Regions from separate parts of the Homo sapiens genome. Here regions 2, 3, 4, 5 and 6 are each linked to region 1. The links are contacts of gene promoters, found by promoter capture Hi-C in blood cells and fetal thymus (Javierre and others, 2016). All regions are on one chromosome and are shown on one strand. The core of a region is centred on a gene start or on the middle of the fragment in contact, and the rest is flanking DNA. Distances in the headings are between cores, read along the strand shown.

Region 1 (2,700 bases), core at 125-2,624:
ACCACCTCTCCCTGAGAGGGCGCAGAGTGGGTGGTTCCCCCCAGGTGAGCAAGGTGGGGGCCCCGTGGGTGTGCTGGGTAGGGGTGGAGTGTGCTGGGAGCACGCGGGAGGACTGCGCCTCTGCTCCTCGGGGTGTGGCGCGGCCCACTCAGGAGCCCCTTCCAGTGTAGACTCCAGGAGGGTACTCTGAGCTAGGAATGCCTTCCTGAGCGTGGTTGGTGGGGGCTCTAAGGCCATTCCTCCAGGCCCTGAGGGGGCAGAGAGACACGTGAGCACTAACCCAGGAGCCGGGACTAGGCTGAGCCCACTACTCACAGCCTGGGGTAAGCCAGCCTCAAGACCCTCCAGGATGGTCTCAGCCTGCATCCGACTGCCTCTCCTGCCTGACCACTGCGCTCCTTCACAGGCCTCTGGCCGGCGAGTTCTCAAGATGTGCAAAGGTTTCCTGCTTCCTTACCTTTGCACACCTTTGCTTATTCCTTTTGCCCAGAAAGTCTTTCCCAGCACATTTGACTCTCTTGAATTCCAGTCTCTCCCGCATGGCTAGGATCAAGCCCGTTCTCCCATCGCTCATCAAATGAACTCAGAGCATAGTACTTTGCCCTGTGTTAAGGTCTTGTCTTAGCTCTGGATTATATGTCCTTGAAGGGTAGGGACCATGTGTTTGTCACCACCTGTCCTTATACACATCAGGTAGTACATAAATCAAGGGAGGCGTGAGGGACAACTGGAAGGAGCCTCGTTTTCTCCATGTACAGGATGGGACTAGTCATAGTGGCCGCACAGGGCTGTGGGAACTCTGGTGCGATTCTGCCATGAGTCACCCCATCTCCTCCTTGCCTGCAGGGTCTCGCTCCATCAGCTGTCCTCTTGGACCCCGCAGCCTCCCCATCCTGTGGCCTTTTGCCCCAGCAAATCTCTCCTCTCTGAAGCCATCCTTTCCTTGACCCTGCATCTCTCTCAGCCACCACCCCATCTCTGCCTCCTCTGAGCAAAATCGTCTTTCCCACCTCCCCAGCCCTCTGCAGACTGCCTCGGCCTTGCCTGGGCATCATCCCCTCAGCTTCAGGGACCCACAATTGGTGCTTCCTCCATTGGGAAATCTTTCCAGACTGTGCTTCCCAACCCCGACAGCCCCGCAAAGCTGGTTTAAGTGTCCCGGTGAGCAACTGTGTCCACCTAGGTTCACTACCCACAGTAGAGGGTTTTAGTGCTCAACCATATCTGCTCTTTTCTTCTCCTGAGCACACAGAATATTCTGTTCCGCTCTTGCGGCAGCTAGGCTGGGAGCAGAGTGAAGAGCGTTACTTTGGGACAAAGCATTGCTTAGCAGTGCGGGATCTTCCAGGACTTTCTTCCCCTGCCCCATCCATCATGGCAGCTTATAATGAAATGGAGGTACCTCAGGTTCCAAACAGTCTGAGTTACTGAGACACTGGTTGGGGGGGCTCTCAGGCCAATCCTCCAGGCCCTGAGCAGGCAGAGGGGCACTACTGAGCCACTGACCTGAGAGTCACCCAGATCACCACAGGTTCTGTGAGCGAGATACCATCTTTTGTTGTGTCAAGTGACTAAGATTCGAGAGGTTTGTTACCACAGCATAGCCAAGCCTTTCCCCACTGATTTACTGATTAAAGAAGTGTTTTAAATGGGTTAATGGCTTGGTAAACTGTAAAGATCTGTGCACATTTTAGTTATTATTATTGCTGTCAAGTTGTAGCAGGGCTGGAGACATGATGTGGCTGGAGAGTGGAGGAATGGCCAGGGTATGCCATGGAGAAAAACTTCCTCTCATTTATGATTTGCCAAGGGCTTTTCCAGGATCTGTTTCCATATTTAATCTCTGATGAAAGGTTATAATGAATCTGGTGTCTGGTGCTACTGGCAGGAGATGGACCTTTCTTCCAGGTATTTACTTCCTGTGGTTGCGAAAGATAGGATGTATTTCTTCTGGATTTGCTGCAATATAATATTTTAGTATCAATTTGATACTGACTGGCTTCAGCCTCCAGCTTAACTGTATCTCTCCATCTTTGAGAGTGGTTGAATAAAATCACAATATGGCTTTGTTTCTTGAGCAAGAATCTGCTAAGCAGTCACCAGATGGAGCTGTTCCCTTGAAGGTCTGTGTGCAGGATTCTCAGGGCCTTTTCTTCTCAAAACCCTTCCCTCTTTGTCTCTTTTCTCCACAACTCTCTTTAACTCATGGTGCTATAGGGATAAATTGGCCCTGTTTAATGAATAGTTGTGATGTTGTTGCTAGTTGAATAGAAGGTAAGTAAATGAACTGTTACCTGGTTCTTTTGCCTTTGTTACCCACCTTAATGGCCCTCAAGAGATTCCCCCACTTCCCTCCCATGGGCCAGTGAACATCAGTGGGAAAAGAGGGGCCTCCCCACCATTTTAGTCCATGCTGACTCTTCAGAATGACTCAGCTGGGGCAATTGGGCTGGACCAGAGAGAAGTGGACAGCCTGGTTTGAGTCTAGACCTGGCCAGCTATTATCTATGTGAAATTGGCCACAATGGTTGCTTCCTCGGGATCAGATTCCTCACCTTTACATGGGGCATCCATCATGGAGGATCACCCCAAAGGGCTTTGGGCCAAAGGATAATTGATAGAGATACGGTATTTAGTTATCACTGTATTTGCGCTTTTTCCAAGAAGGGTAAAAGAAGGATTGAATAAAAAAGGTTCCTG
Region 2 (2,700 bases), core at 201-2,700, 310 kb after region 1:
TGGAACAACCTAAAAAGTGTCTATTCAAACAGAACTTTCACTAAAGGAGATGGAAACAACCAAAAAAGTATCAGATGCTTAAAACAGTGTGATAGCACAGAGAGGCACTGGGGATCAACCCTAGGAAGATGAGCCTCTCTGGGGAATTGACATTTTAAGTTGAGATCTAGAAAGTACCAGCCATGTAAAGATTTGGGGAAAGAACGCAAGGCAGAGGTGCCATCTAATGTAGACTCCAGGGTGAGAAGGAGTCTGGCACCAAGGGAACTGAGTGGTGCAGGGAGGGGCAGGGATAAGAGTGGATCCAGGTCGTAGGCAAGAAGAGTCTCTACATATACATTTACATATTTATAAATCAGGAAAAGCTCAACAGCTTAGATATTTGATATTTATAAATTCTTAATTTCTTAATAATGTGCAATAATGGTTATTTTAGATTTTTTAAGAATTTCTTTCAGATATACATATTGGAATATTTTTATGAAATTATGTCTAGATTTGCTTCAAAATAATCTAAGTAGAGGATAAGGAGAGTGAGGGCAAATGAGTGGAGTAGGGGTAAGGTGGTAGAGATGAAACAGAATTGGCTATGAGTTGAGAACTGCTGAAGCTGGATGACGGGTATACAGAGATTCATTATATTATTATGCCTTATTTTGAATTTTTGAAATGTTCCATAATAAATACATTTTTAAAGCACCTTATTTAAAATATAAGGGAGGGAGTATTTATAAATACAAATGCCCCATTCACAGGGGACTTTTTAAAGGTGCAAACTACTGTCTATGATACTGTAGTGGATATAGGACACTATGCATTTGTCGAAACCTACATAACTTTTCAACAGAGTGAATCTTAATATATGCAAATTTTCAAAAAAATTCATGTAGGAGGTCAGATCTTAGGATGTAAAACAGAATATGACATATACCAGTTTTTGTGACACTCAGGTGTACCCATTAAGCTTTTCATCAGGAGTCCCTCAAAGGCCCCAAAAGTCTAGAGGTCCTAGCACAGTATACAAATTTTAGTATGTGTGGACATTCATGCCTTTTTCTAGGGAAAGGGCCTAAGGCTTTCACAAAAAAAGGCTGAGAACCACTGACATTTCTCCTTGCCTGCAGCTTCTTGGCTGAAAAGTAACCTTGCTATTGCTCTTAATCTAATGACAATATCTCATTCATTTTATGATTTCCCTGCAAGGGCATTACTACACAGCTATTGCTGTAAGCAAATAATAAATACCACCAGTGAATTTTACAATTCTGAAAGTTGTGACAAACACATGCATATGCACATAAAAAAGGTGGAGGCCTGGTATGGTGGCTCACACCTGTAATCCCAGCACTTTGGGAAGCCCAGACAGGGTTGGTGGGGGAGGGAAATCACTTGAAGTCAGGAGTTCGAGACCAGTCTGGCCAACATGGTGAAACGCCATCTCTACCAAAAAAAAAAAAAAAAAGATACAAAAATTAGCCACGCGTGGTGGTGCACGCCTGTAGTCCCAAGCTACTCAGGAGCCTTAGGCACGACAATCGCTTGAAGCTGGGAGACAGAGACTGCAGTGAGCTGAGATTGCACCACTGTACTCCAGCCTGAGAGAAAGAGCAAGACTCTATCTCAAAAAAAAAAAAAGAAAGGTGACAAACTATGTATTTAAGTTCCCTTTACAGTATCACCTTTTTATAATATCATATTTCATTTAATCTAAAGTACATCCTTATTTTTTGTGCCACTAAGAAAGAAAAAAGCTATTAACTGATGACTCTCCCCACTGATTATAACATGGTTCTGATTTCAGAGACGTTCAAATGTGGAAAACCTGTACCTCCTGTAATTAATTAAACATGGCATTCAAAACGTTAATTTACCTGAGCCCCATCTCAGATCAATTCAACAAATTGCTCAGGGTAGGTCAAGGAATCTGTAGTTTGTTAAAGCTTCTCAGATGATTTTGGTTAAAGACTAAGTCAACTGTCAACCTTCAAAGGCAGCACAGTAGAGAAAGCACGCACTTTGGAGTCACATAGCCCCACACATCTCTGTGACCTACAGCAAATTCTGTTAATTGCCCACAACCTCAGCATCTCAGCTTTATCTGTTTAAAAACAAACAAACAAAAAACAGTCAATGCCACCGACTTCCTATGGTTGATAAAAGAGAACATATGTAAAGTACCTGGCATACAGCAAGATACGCTCTTCCTCCTCCTCCCTAAATTACAGGTGATCCCTAACTAGAGACTTGTGTGCTGTCTATTCCAGCTTAAAATTTATATAAGAATGAGAATGAGGCCGGGCAAGGTGGCTCACGCCTGTAATCCCAGCACTTTGAAAGGAGGCCAAGGTGGGTGGATCACCTGAGGTCAGGAGTTCAAGATTGGACTGGCCAACATGCTGAAATCCCATCTCTACCAAAAATACAAAAATTAGCTGGGAATGGTGGTGGACGCCTGTGATCCCAGCTACTCAGGAGGCTGAGGCAGGAGAATTGCTTGAACCCAGGAGGCAGAGGTTGCAGTGAGCCGAGATCATGCCATTACACTCCAGCCTGGGTGACAAGAGCAAAACTCCGTCTCAAAAAAAAAAAAAAGATAAGAATGAGACCTATGAAATCCACTCAGCATTATCACTGCTGAACACACAAAAAGAATCATTCAACAACTGTTTATTATGTAACTGAGCAATACACACACGTTTA
Region 3 (2,700 bases), core at 20-2,519, 360 kb after region 1:
TTGCAAATTATCCATCTGACAAGAGATTAAAAACTAGAATATATAAGGAGCCCAAACAACTCAATAAAAAAAAATCTAATAATCTAGTTCAAAAATGGGCAAAAGATCTGAATAGATATTACTCAAAAGAAAACATATAAATGGGAAACATGTATATGAAGAGGTGCTTAATATTATTGATCATCAGAGAAATGCAAATCAAAACTACAGTGAGATATCATCTCACCCCAGTAAAAATGGCTTTTATCCAAAAGATAGGCAATAACAAATGCTAGTGAGGATGTGGAGAAAAGGGAAGCCTTGTACACTGTTGGAGGGGATGTAAATTAGTACAGCCACCATGGAGAACAGAATGGGGTTTCCTCAAAAAACTGAAGGCAAAACTGCTACATGATCCAGCAATTCCACTACTGGGTATTTGCCCAGAGGAAATGAAATCAGTATGTCAAAGAGATATCTGCACTCTCATGTTTATTGTAGCACTATTCACAATAGCCAAGATTTGGAAGCAACCTAAGTGCCCATTGGCAAACAAATGGATAAAGAAAATGTTGTGCATATATACAAAGAAGTACTATTCAGTCATAAACAGAATGAGATCCTGTCATTTACAACAACATAGATGGAACTGGAAGACATTATGTTAAGTGAAATAAGCTAGACACAGAAAGAAGAACTTTGTCTGTTCTCAATCATTTGTGGGATCTAATAATTAAAACGATTGAACTCATGGAGATAGAAAACAGAATGATGGATACCAGAGGCCAGGGAGGGCAGTTTTGGCAGTGGGGGGGGTGGGGGGAGGGGAAGTTGGTCTAAGTGGAAATGATTAATGAGTACAAAAATATAGTTAGATAGAATGAATAAGATCTAGTATTTGATAGCTCAACAGAGTGACTACAGTCAACAATAATTTATTGTACATTTAAAAATAACTAAAAGAGTATAATTGGAATGTTTGTAACATAAAGAAATGACAAATGCTTGAGGTGATGGATACCCCATTTACTCTGGTGTGATTATAACTCATTGTATGAGTAATATCCATCCATCCTATATCGAAATATTTCCATCCTGTATCAAAATGTTTCATGTACCCCATAAATATATATGCCTATTTTGTACCCACAAAAATTAAAAATAGGCCAGGCGTGGTGGCTCAACGCCTGTAATCCCAGCACTTTGGGAGGCCGAGGTGGTTGGATCACGAGGTCAGGAAACCGAGACTATCCTGGCTAACACGGTGAAACCCCGTCTCTACTAAAAATACAAAAAATTAGCCGGGCGTGGTGGGGGGCGCCTGTAGTCCCAGCTACTCGGGAGGCTGAGGCAGGACAATGGCGTCAACCTGGGAGGCGGAGCTTGCAGTGAGCGGAGATAGCGCCACTGCACTCCAGCCTGGGCGACAGAGCGAGACTCCGTTTAAAAAAAAAAAAAAAATTATAAAAAAGCCAACAAACAAAAAAACTCAACCCCTAATTTAGACTTAACATTTTTAGCTAATGCTCTCCTCTGCAATTGTTTAGCTGGTTAAAAGATAATACATTTTTGAAATATGAAAAATGTAAGACAAATTACTTCCTTCTTTGTAGTCTTCACACAAAGTAACCTGTGCTCATGAACTCAATTTTCACAAATTTCACAGCTTCCTGAACCACAGCTAGACTCAATTAAAAATATTGTACGTAGATAGGGGAGATGAGGGTTGTGGATTCTTCCCAGCCATCTCTCTATTCTACATCCTCGAATAATTTCTCAAATGCATTATCAAATTCACTGTTTTCATTTCCTTGCCTCTCACATTCATTTGCTAATCCATTCCAATCTGGCTTCCATCCCCCTGCTCATTGCACTGCCTGTCTTAGTTTGTTTTGTGTTGCTATAACAGAATACATGAACTGGGTAATTTATAAAGAAGAGAGATTTATTTTTACAGTTCTGGAGGCTGGGAAGTCCACGGTTCAGGGGCCTGCATCTGGGCCTTCTTGCTGCACATCCCACAGTGGAAGGTAAAGGGTGAACAGAGGGTGAGAACAAGAACAAGAGAGAGGCGAGAGAGAGCCAAACCTGCTTTTACAACAAGCCCACTCCTGGGATAATGACATTAATTCATTCATTCATGAGAACTTTGCTCTCATACCTTTATCACCTCTTAAAAATCCCACCTCTCAACACTGCTCCATTGGGGATCAAGTTTCCAACACATGGCCTTTGGGGGACAGGTTCCAATCATAGCACTGACCATGACTCAGTCACCAAGGACCTGCCTGCTACCATATCTAATGGTTACTTCTCTTTTTTCAGCTTACCTCACTTCTCAGCAGCATTTCATAGAGTTCTTCTAGAATTCTTCTGGCATTCCTCCTACCTCAATGATGGCTGCTCCTCAGCCTCATTTGCTGGTTTCTCCTTCTTACCTGACCTATAAGTATTGATTAGCCCCAGAGCTCAGCTCTGTGCCCTCTCCATTTTTCTGTCTATATTGTCTCCATAAGTGACCTCATCCAAATTTGTATCTCTTGCTCAACTCCTTCTACCCGAGCTCCAGATTTGCCTTCAGGAATGCCTTTGTGACAACTCTACTTGTGTCCTCAATAAGTAGCTCAAGCTTAATATGGTTCAAAGTCAAACGGTTTCCCTTGAATCCTGTTTCTCCTCACTATTCCTCACCTTGATAAATGTACTCTTTGCCATTACTAT
Region 4 (2,700 bases), core at 44-2,543, 490 kb before region 1:
TGGATAAATTCTGTTTTTTTGTTTTGTTTTGTTTTTTGGAGAGATAGGGTTTTGCTATGTTGCCCAGGCTGGTCTCAAACTTCTAGGCTCAAGCAATCCACCCACCCTGTCCTCCCAAAGTGCTGGGCTTATAGGCGTGAACCACCACACCTAGCCCCTCTGAAGAGTTTTAATTTAGTTTAATCAGAGTGACATGATATGATTTTAAGAGTTTAAAAAGCCCACTCTGGAAGCAGGATGCAGAATGCATTGGAGGAGGGAGGTACAGATCAGGGAGTTGGAAGGATATTACAATGGGATATTATAATGGGATAGGAGAGCATGATGGGGACTTGCACTAGGGTGATGTCAAGAGAGGTAGAGAGAAATAAATGGATTTGAGATACATTGTGGGGGTAGAATTGACTAGACTCAGTGATAAATGAGATGTGGGAGATGACAGAAAGTGAGAGATCAAGATGATCCCTTGGTTTCCGGGTAGACATTGGGGTTGTTTACTGAGATGAAGAGGATCAAGGGGTGGTGGGGAAAGGGAAGATTTGTGGGGAAATTATCTAGATTTTCTTTTTTTTTTTTTTAATGGATTTTCACTCTTGTTGCCCAGGCTGGAGTGCAGTGGTGCGATCTCAGCTCACTGCTACCTCTGCCTCCTGGGTTCAAGCCATGATCCTGCCTCAGCCTCCTAAATAGCTGGAATTACAGGTGCGTGCAACCACGCCCAGCTAATTTTTTGTATTTTTAGTAGAGGCAGGGGTTTCACTATGTTGGCCAGGCTGGTCTGGAACAACTGACCTCAGGTAATCCACCCACCTCAGCCTCCCAAAGTGCTGGGATTCCAGGCGTGAGCCACCGCACCCGGCCAAAATTATCTAGATTTTCATTCGGGGACATGTTAAGTTTGAGATGTCTGAGAAATAGCCAAGTGAAGACCTCAAAGAGAGGGTGAGTATGCAAGTGTGGAGCTGAGCAGAAAGTTCTGAGATAGACATTTAAATGTGAAAGTCATTAGCACATACAATGCCATTTAAATCTGTGTGGATAGATCAGACCATTTAGTGATTAAAAAAAAGAAGCACCAAGACCCAATCTTGAAAAACTTTAACATTTAGAGGTCAGATAAGGAAGAAAAACCTGGTGAAGCAGAGAATAATAAGAAAGAATGGTCAATGAAGTAGGAGGAAGTCCAGAGAGAGTGGTGTCATGGAAGCCGAGACAGAAAAGTACATCTGTGACAAATGCAACCAGCAGGTCAATATGAGCACAGAGAAGCATCTGCCGGGCTTGGTAATACGGTGGCCTTGTTATTAAGAGCAGTATCACTGGGGTGCTAGGGACTGAGAATTATTTCTCATTCCTTTATTGCTAGAAGCAAGTTATGCTGAACATCCATCCTAAACTTGAAAGTCAAATAAATGTGGGAAGGGTTTCCAAGGGAATCTTGCATCTTGCCACTGCACCAGCTGAGTTTAATTTCCCAGGAGCTCAGTCTTACCCACCTCCTCCCCACACCTGCAGCTCTAGCTGCCAGAATGCCAATATCTTTACTCCAAACAAACCATTCATTGTACCCTTGGGCCCAAATGATAACCTTTTTTAAAACGCTGCTTGTATTTGCCTTTCCTTTAACACAATGATGGTCAAATCTCTCATCCACCACCACCAGCTCATTTATTTTAATAACTACATCCGCAGTGAAAACAGGAGTAGTATTATAGAAAGAGATAAAGTCCTCACCATCATGGTACAAATGACTAGGACTTTTCAGATGACTATGGACAGGAAAAACAAAGGAAAAAAATATATATGTATATATATACATATATATATATCAAGCCACTAGATGGAAGTCTTCATTCAACTGCCTGTGCACTTCAGAAAAGTAAAGCAGGATCAGTGCCAGACTGCACAAACCCATCAAATTCATTCGACATTCATTGAACAACTGCTTTGTACAAAGACAAATAACAATGATGATAATGGCTACCGTTCATGCAATATTTACTCTGTGCCAGGCAATCTGCTGAGTCACACATACGCTGAGTCTCACACACCTTGGCTCATTTAATTCTCCCAGGAGGAAGGGAGTATTATTATCTTCATTTTATGGGGGAGGAAACCAAATCTTAGAATTACTTACTCTAAGCAACTGACCCATGCTTGTGAATGGAGGAGCCAGTTTCCAGAATAAGAAAACACTGTCGTTGTCTACAAAGTATTTATACTAAATGTGGTAAGAGAGGGATAATGTGCCACAGGGGTGGGCTGTGACTCAGATGCAGGAACCAGCCAATGAGGGAGGAAGAGAATCAGCAAAGGCCCCACCATGCTCTCTACAGCTCAGGATGAAACGGAGCGGTCACCCCTAATTGTTTTCCCTCACTCTCCCCATAACTACTGCACCACAAAGAACCGACTGTTCTATCCCCCAAATGCATCTTAAACTAGTCCACATTTTTCCACCTACCCTATGATCACATCGTTCGTCCAGGCCACCATCATTAATAAAATGGGCTCCCTGGACCACCGCAAGAGCCTCCCGACTGGTTCTTTGGCATCTTCTCCTGCCTCCTCCAATCCTCTCTTCCCACAGTAGTCAGAGGGTCCACTTAGTGCACAGATCACCTCTGTAACCTGCTCAAGCCCTTTCAAAGGCTTCCCAGTAAATCTCAACTCCTTTCCATTGTGCCCAAGGCCTTCCCT
Region 5 (2,700 bases), core at 9-2,508, 440 kb after region 1:
CCAGAGCTACCCGAGGCAAAGCAAGCAAATGGGATTCAATTCGTATGGGATTCAGTTCGCCCTGGAGTTTTATCTGCGGGCATTTCCTATGATAATCACTCTCTGGGCCGACTCCCACAGAGAAGGCAGGGGAGCGGCAGGAAGGAATGCGGAGCCTTCCTGACAGATTCCAGGCGCTCCATAGTGTGCCCGGACTGGGAGCAAGGAACATCTCCAAGGCCTCTCATCGCGAATTTGTCCCGGCCAAGCCCCTCAGATTCACGTCCTTTCAGACATCAAACGCCTGGGCCTTTACAAAAACCTGCTTCCGCGCCCCCGGCCGCGAACCTCTGCTGCACTCGCCCGCTGCGCTCTCTGAAGGCCGCCTTTCTAAGCCAGCGCGCGTCTCCAGCCTTGGCCTGGGCTCCTGCTCGCCTAAGGAACCAAAGACAGTCTCCAAGCTAGGAGGTTCTGGCACCCCAGCCAGGGCTCCCGCCCCACCACGAGCCCGGGCGGACCTGGAGCACCGGTGGCCGCTGGTACGCCTGGGGCGAGCCGGTGAGGGTAGCCCGAGGCCCGGAGAGGTCTTTAAGCATCGCGGGTCCGCCTCCCTCCCTCTCGAGCCCTCTTTGTTTTCCAAATACTCTAACGCTGACGTCACCGGGCTGGACAGCAGGCTGCATTCTTTCTAAGTGAGGGCCAATTCGTGGCTCCAGAGAGGATTTTCCAAGGAAGACAAAGAGGAATTCTTGGACTAGTTGGGGGCAAAGGCACCTGTAACCCCCACCTAACCAAATCAGCCCGCAGGACCCTGCAACTTGAGCTCCAAGCGGCGCCTCCATCCCTGTCCCCCGCCACCCCCACCCCCGCCGACCTGCAACCCGAAACACTGTGGCTGTTGTCTCCGGAGTCGGCCCTCTCCCCTCTCCCCCAGCCCCAAGAGACCCGCGCGTTTCTAGAGCCCCGCAAAGCCCAGCGCGCTGCGCTCCCTGGGCAGAGCGGCCCTTGCCAGGCACTGCGGCTGCCTCGAAAGGGCGCACTGCGCCCCGAGGACGCTCGATCCTCGAGGCTCCGACTCCCGGAAAAGGCCGGGTTGCGCCGAGACTCCAGCTTTGGCTGGGGCACGTTTCTGTGGCCTCGCGCGCTCTCCCGAGCGCCGAGCGGCCTTCCTTACCGCTGCGGCCCGAGGGTGCCCAGCGCAGTCAGACACCACAACCTCCGGCTCGGCCCAGCTCAGCTCGGCGGCGAAGATGTGTTCTCGGCCGTGGCGCCGACGCTCTGGCTGTTCGCGCCCCAGCGCGCAGCCCCAGGGTCGGCCCGCGCCGGAGGCGGCTGCTATGCCAGGAATGTGAGAGTTTCAGGTTCCCCCTCGGGATCAAAGCGAACCACAAATAACCTCTCAGCGCACCGCCCTCCTCCGCCCTCCGCCTTCTCCCGCTCCCTCCTCCCGGCCCCCGCCTTCCTCCGGGGAGGCGGCGCTGCTGGCCGAGCGCCGGCCCGGCCCCCGAGCTCCGTTCCTCCGCGCCCAGCGCCCTCCAGGCCGCGGTGTGTCCGCCCCTGCCCCATGCTTTGCCTTCGGAGCTGCTGGAGACAATTTAATCCAACTCTGCCCATTATCGCCTCCACTCCCAGTCGCCGACCCGCTCTCACCCTTCATCCCTAAACCCATCGACGGGACGACAGCAAGGGCTGTACCACGCGTGTCCTGGGGTTGCTGCGGGAGGGGACTCCGGCTGTGTGTGTGTGTGTGTGTGTGTGTGCGTGTGTGTGTACCGGGGGAGGTGGGAAAGGGAGGAGGGACTGCAAAGACATCCATATCCTCTGGGCTGGGACAGTGCCCCGGGCTAAGTGAATGCTTCCAGCCACAGAGCCTCTTTCCCCTAACCCCCGCTGTTTTCACCCCCAGCGGCAACCTTTGAATGCACTTTTGTTTACAAACACCTTCGCCAGCTATTTTACGACCGTCTCGACAGGAAGTGTGAATCTGGGTTGGAAAATCCGGTCAATTTGACCCACCTACCCAACTGAATCACCCGCCGCCAGGCGCTCTGTCCAGTTCTTCCCCAAGGTGATAATAGGCGCCCCTTTACGCAGAGTGCAAGGTGTGCCACCGCTGGCTTTTCGCCCAGTCATCCGATTCAGCCCTGCCAAGCACCCTCCAACGGAGTTCTGTTATCATCCCTGTGTTGTAAATGAGGACACCAGGGCTCAGAGAGCTTAAGCAGCGTGCCCAGAGTCACACACAGTGAGAACCAGGTAATCAACCACTGGGCTGCTTGGTTTCTCATTCTCAAAACCCCTCCCTGGCTATCAGAATCCAGGCTCCCTAGATGGACAGGGCAGACACTGGGAGCCCTCCTCTCTCCACTTACCCTGTCCTTGCTTTAGTCTCTTCTTTACCTCCCCCTACACCCCTGCCAGCCAGGGGCTTTCCCCTGTACCCACTTCTGTGGCTCCTGCATGGAATCCTCTCCTCTGCCCCCAGGACACTTCCACTGCTAGATGGAAACCCCTTCTTCAGAAAGCTCGCTCTGACACATGCTGTCCCCGTTCCCCATCACACAAGCCCTCTCTACAAGTCAGTTGGGGTGAGGTGGGGGCAGTCAGGCCCCTGTCCACCCAGAGAGTCAGGGCTGATTTCTACCCCTGGCTGGGTCCTCCCATCAGCATGGAGTTTGCAAGTCCCAAATTCACTGGAGGGAAACAAGGACAAGGAAATTC
Region 6 (2,700 bases), core at 125-2,624, 440 kb before region 1:
TTAGGCTTTTTTTCTATTTCTGTGAAGAATGTTATTGCTATTCTGATAGGGATTTCATTAAACCTGTAAATTGCTTTGGGTAGTACTGTTATTTTAACAATATTAATTCTTCCAATCCATTAGCATGGAATATCTTTCCATTTTTTTGTGTCCTCTCCTATTTTTTTCAGAGTTTTATAGTCTTCCTTATATAGATCTTTTACTTTGTTAGACTGATTTCTAGATATTTTATATTTTTGTACCTTGTAAATGGGATTGCTTTCTTGATTTCTGTTTCAGATTGTTTGCTGTTGGTGTATATAAATGCTACTGATTTTTGTGTGTTAATTTTGTATCCTGCAACTTTGCTGAATTTGTTTATCAGTTCCAGTAGTTTTTTGGTGGGGCCTTTAGGTATTTCTAGGTATAAAATCAAGTCATCTATGAACAAGACCAATTTGATTTATTTCTTTCCAGTTTGGATGCCCTTTAGTTTATGTTCTTGCCTAATTGCTCTGGCCAGGACTTCCAGTGTTATGTTGAATAACCATACTAAAAGTGGGCATCCAGCCAGGCACAGTGGCTCACACCTTTAATACCAGCAGTTTGGGAGGCTAAGGCAGGAGGATCATTTGAGCACAGGAGTTTGAGACCAGCCTGGGCAACATAAGGAGACCCCATCTCTATAAAATAAAATTTAAAAAAATTAGCTGGATGTGGTGTATCACACCTGTGATCCCAGCTACTTGTGTGTCACAGGATCCTTGGGGCATTGCTTTTCTCCCATCCAAGTATTAACCAGGCCTGACCCTGCTTAGCTTCCAAGACCAGACAAGATCAGGCCCCTGGCCGGGCGCCGTGGCTCACGCCTGTAATCCCAGCACTTTGGGAGGCCGAGGCGGGCGGATCACGAGGTCAGGAGATCGAGACCATCCTGGCTAACACGGTGAAACCCCGTCTCTACTAAAAATACAAAAAAATTAGCCGGGTGCAGTGGTGAGCGCCTGTAGTCCCAGCTACTCGGGAGGCTGAGGCAGGAGAATGGCGTGAACCTGGGAGGCGGAGCTTGCAGTGAGCCGAGATCGCGCCACTGCACTCCAGCCTAGGCGACAGAGAGAGACTCCGTCTCAAAAAAAAAAAAAAAAAAAAAAAAAAAAAGATCAGGCCCCTTCAGGGTTGTACGCCCATAGATGGGGTGTCACTTTTCTGGCCAGAAATCTCTGTGGTCAGTGGCATCTTTGCTCAAGCTTTGCTCAGGCCCGCTGGGCTCATACCACCTATTCAGCCTGGCAGGCTGTGCTCAGCTCACGCAACTGGCCTGATTCCCATTCCAGCCAAGGGTGAGCCAGGCATGGAGTGGCAAGGGGTGTGTGAGCAAGCAAGTGTGGGGTCTGGCCACTTCTCACAGCCAGGCACACTGGCTGTGGTGGGGTGGGCAGCTCCAGGTGCTGGCACAGGTGCTGGCTCCCTGCGAGTCTGCAGCTGGACCAGGCATACTGCAAGCAGCTTCTACAGCTGTCATCAGGAAACGCTGTGGTGCCCAGAAGCTTGGAGATGCCAGTAACTGCAGAGCCCCAAATAGGGTGTCACAGCCCTGGTTCGGGGAGCTCCTAGGTCTGGGCTCCCCAAAGGGCCACAGCTCTTCTCTCCTTCTCTCTTTTCTCCTTCTTATCACCTGCAATGTGGTGAGCAATGGGTGTGTTTCAGCCCTGTTTGTGTTACAGCTCTTTCAGCCCTGGTACCCCAAGTCCCACGTCCAGGAAGAATGAGGTATGCGGGCAAGTGGAGGGTGAGCAAGGCAAAATGGTGTTTTACTGAGCCACAGAACAGCTCAGAGGAGACCCACAGTGGGTAGCTCTTCTCTGAAGGCAGGTCATCCTGATGAGAGTCCAGCTCTCAGCAGAGAGGAGACCCACAGTGGGTAGCTCCTCTCCGCAGGCAGATCATCTTGATGTCTGCCGAAGTCTGGCTGAGTCCAGGGTTTTTATGGTCTTCAAAGGGGAGGAATGATCAGCAATGCACGCTGATTGGCCTATGGGCGGCCATGGGTGGGGAGAGGCTGGGCAGCAGAAGCAGGCATTTCCAAGCCTGTGAGGGCTTCCCTGGCCCCCAAGACTGCAGGAATGCCCGAGTCTGCAGCCACAGCTGGGCAGCCTCACTTTGCTCCACAATCATAGTGGGTGCCAGGAGCAGAGAGAGGCCAGGCAGCAGGAGCAGGCATTCCCAAGCCTATGGGGCCATGGGGGACTTCCTGGCCCCCGAGAGTGCAGGAATGCCTAGGTCTGCAGGGCAGCTGGGCAGTTGCAGCTGCACCTGGGAGGGTGGGGCTCCTGTCTCTCCAACCAGGAATGAGTCCTGGCTTCCTCCTGTTCCCAGCTTCCACCGGCTCCTGCCAGCTTCCACCGGCTCTTGCCAGCTTCCTGGAGTACACAGCCCTGGTGTGCCTCCCCTACTGCAGCCAGCGTCTTTGCAGCAGCTGCTCCAGATAAGCTGCCACTGCCATCACTTGGAAGGTTGAGGTGGGAGAGATTGCTTGAGCCCAGGAAGTGGGGACTGTAGGGAGCCATGATCATGCCATTACACTCCAGCCTGGGTGACAGATCGAGATCCTGTTTTTAAAAATATAAATAAGGCCAGACACGGTGGCTCACGCCTGTAATCCCAGCACTTTGGGAGGTCGAGACTGGTGGATCACAAGGTCAGGAGTTCGAGAACAGCCTG

The links. Contacts are between HindIII fragments. The CHiCAGO score rates a contact against its expected background, and 5 or more counts as called.
Region 2: a fragment that was not itself captured here is called in contact with the fragment with the promoter of C3orf36 in region 1 in 1 of 17 cell types (endothelial precursors); the score reaches 7.6 in endothelial precursors.
Region 3: a contact is called between a fragment that was not itself captured here and the fragment with the promoter of C3orf36 in region 1, in 2 of 17 cell types (endothelial precursors and megakaryocytes). The highest score is 7.9, in endothelial precursors.
Region 4: a contact is called between a fragment that was not itself captured here and the fragment with the promoter of C3orf36 in region 1, in 1 of 17 cell types (endothelial precursors). The highest score is 5.1, in endothelial precursors.
Region 5: the fragment with the promoter of AMOTL2 here is called in contact with the fragment with the promoter of C3orf36 in region 1 in 1 of 17 cell types (M2 macrophages); the score reaches 5.1 in M2 macrophages.
Region 6: a contact is called between a fragment that was not itself captured here and the fragment with the promoter of C3orf36 in region 1, in 1 of 17 cell types (activated CD4 T cells). The highest score is 6.9, in activated CD4 T cells.

What each region holds. Positions count from the first base shown.
Region 1 is chr3:133,928,438-133,931,137 of GRCh38, forward strand. It overlaps C3orf36 (chromosome 3 putative open reading frame 36), which reads right to left and starts at 1,375. Exons shown (of 1, transcript NR_161373.1): 1 at 1-1,375. The HindIII fragment of the contact is 5,965 bases long and covers 1-2,700 here.
Region 2 is chr3:134,239,728-134,242,427 of GRCh38, forward strand. All of the region lies in intron 1 of RYK (receptor like tyrosine kinase), which reads right to left. Among named protein-coding and RNA genes, the nearest start is that of RYK, 9.8 kb to the right of the region's middle. The HindIII fragment of the contact is 976 bases long and covers 963-1,938 here.
Region 3 is chr3:134,285,453-134,288,152 of GRCh38, forward strand. No RefSeq gene overlaps it. Among named protein-coding and RNA genes, the nearest start is that of LINC02004, 27 kb to the right of the region's middle. The HindIII fragment of the contact is 2,673 bases long and covers 1-2,606 here.
Region 4 is chr3:133,442,299-133,444,998 of GRCh38, forward strand. The region is part of intron 1 of BFSP2 (beaded filament structural protein 2); the gene reads left to right. All of the region lies in intron 2 of BFSP2-AS1 (BFSP2 antisense RNA 1), which reads right to left. Among named protein-coding and RNA genes, the nearest start is that of BFSP2, 44 kb to the left of the region's middle. The HindIII fragment of the contact is 3,562 bases long and covers 1-2,700 here.
Region 5 is chr3:134,373,189-134,375,888 of GRCh38, forward strand. It overlaps AMOTL2 (angiomotin like 2), which reads right to left and starts at 1,259. Exons shown (of 10, transcript NM_016201.4): 1 at 1,154-1,259. RefSeq lists enhancers at 519-1,318, 1,319-2,118, 2,119-2,700. The HindIII fragment of the contact is 9,314 bases long and covers 1-2,700 here.
Region 6 is chr3:133,485,093-133,487,792 of GRCh38, forward strand. The region is part of intron 1 of BFSP2-AS1 (BFSP2 antisense RNA 1); the gene reads right to left. Among named protein-coding and RNA genes, the nearest start is that of BFSP2-AS1, 4.7 kb to the right of the region's middle. RefSeq lists an enhancer at 2,287-2,700. The HindIII fragment of the contact is 300 bases long and covers 1,225-1,524 here.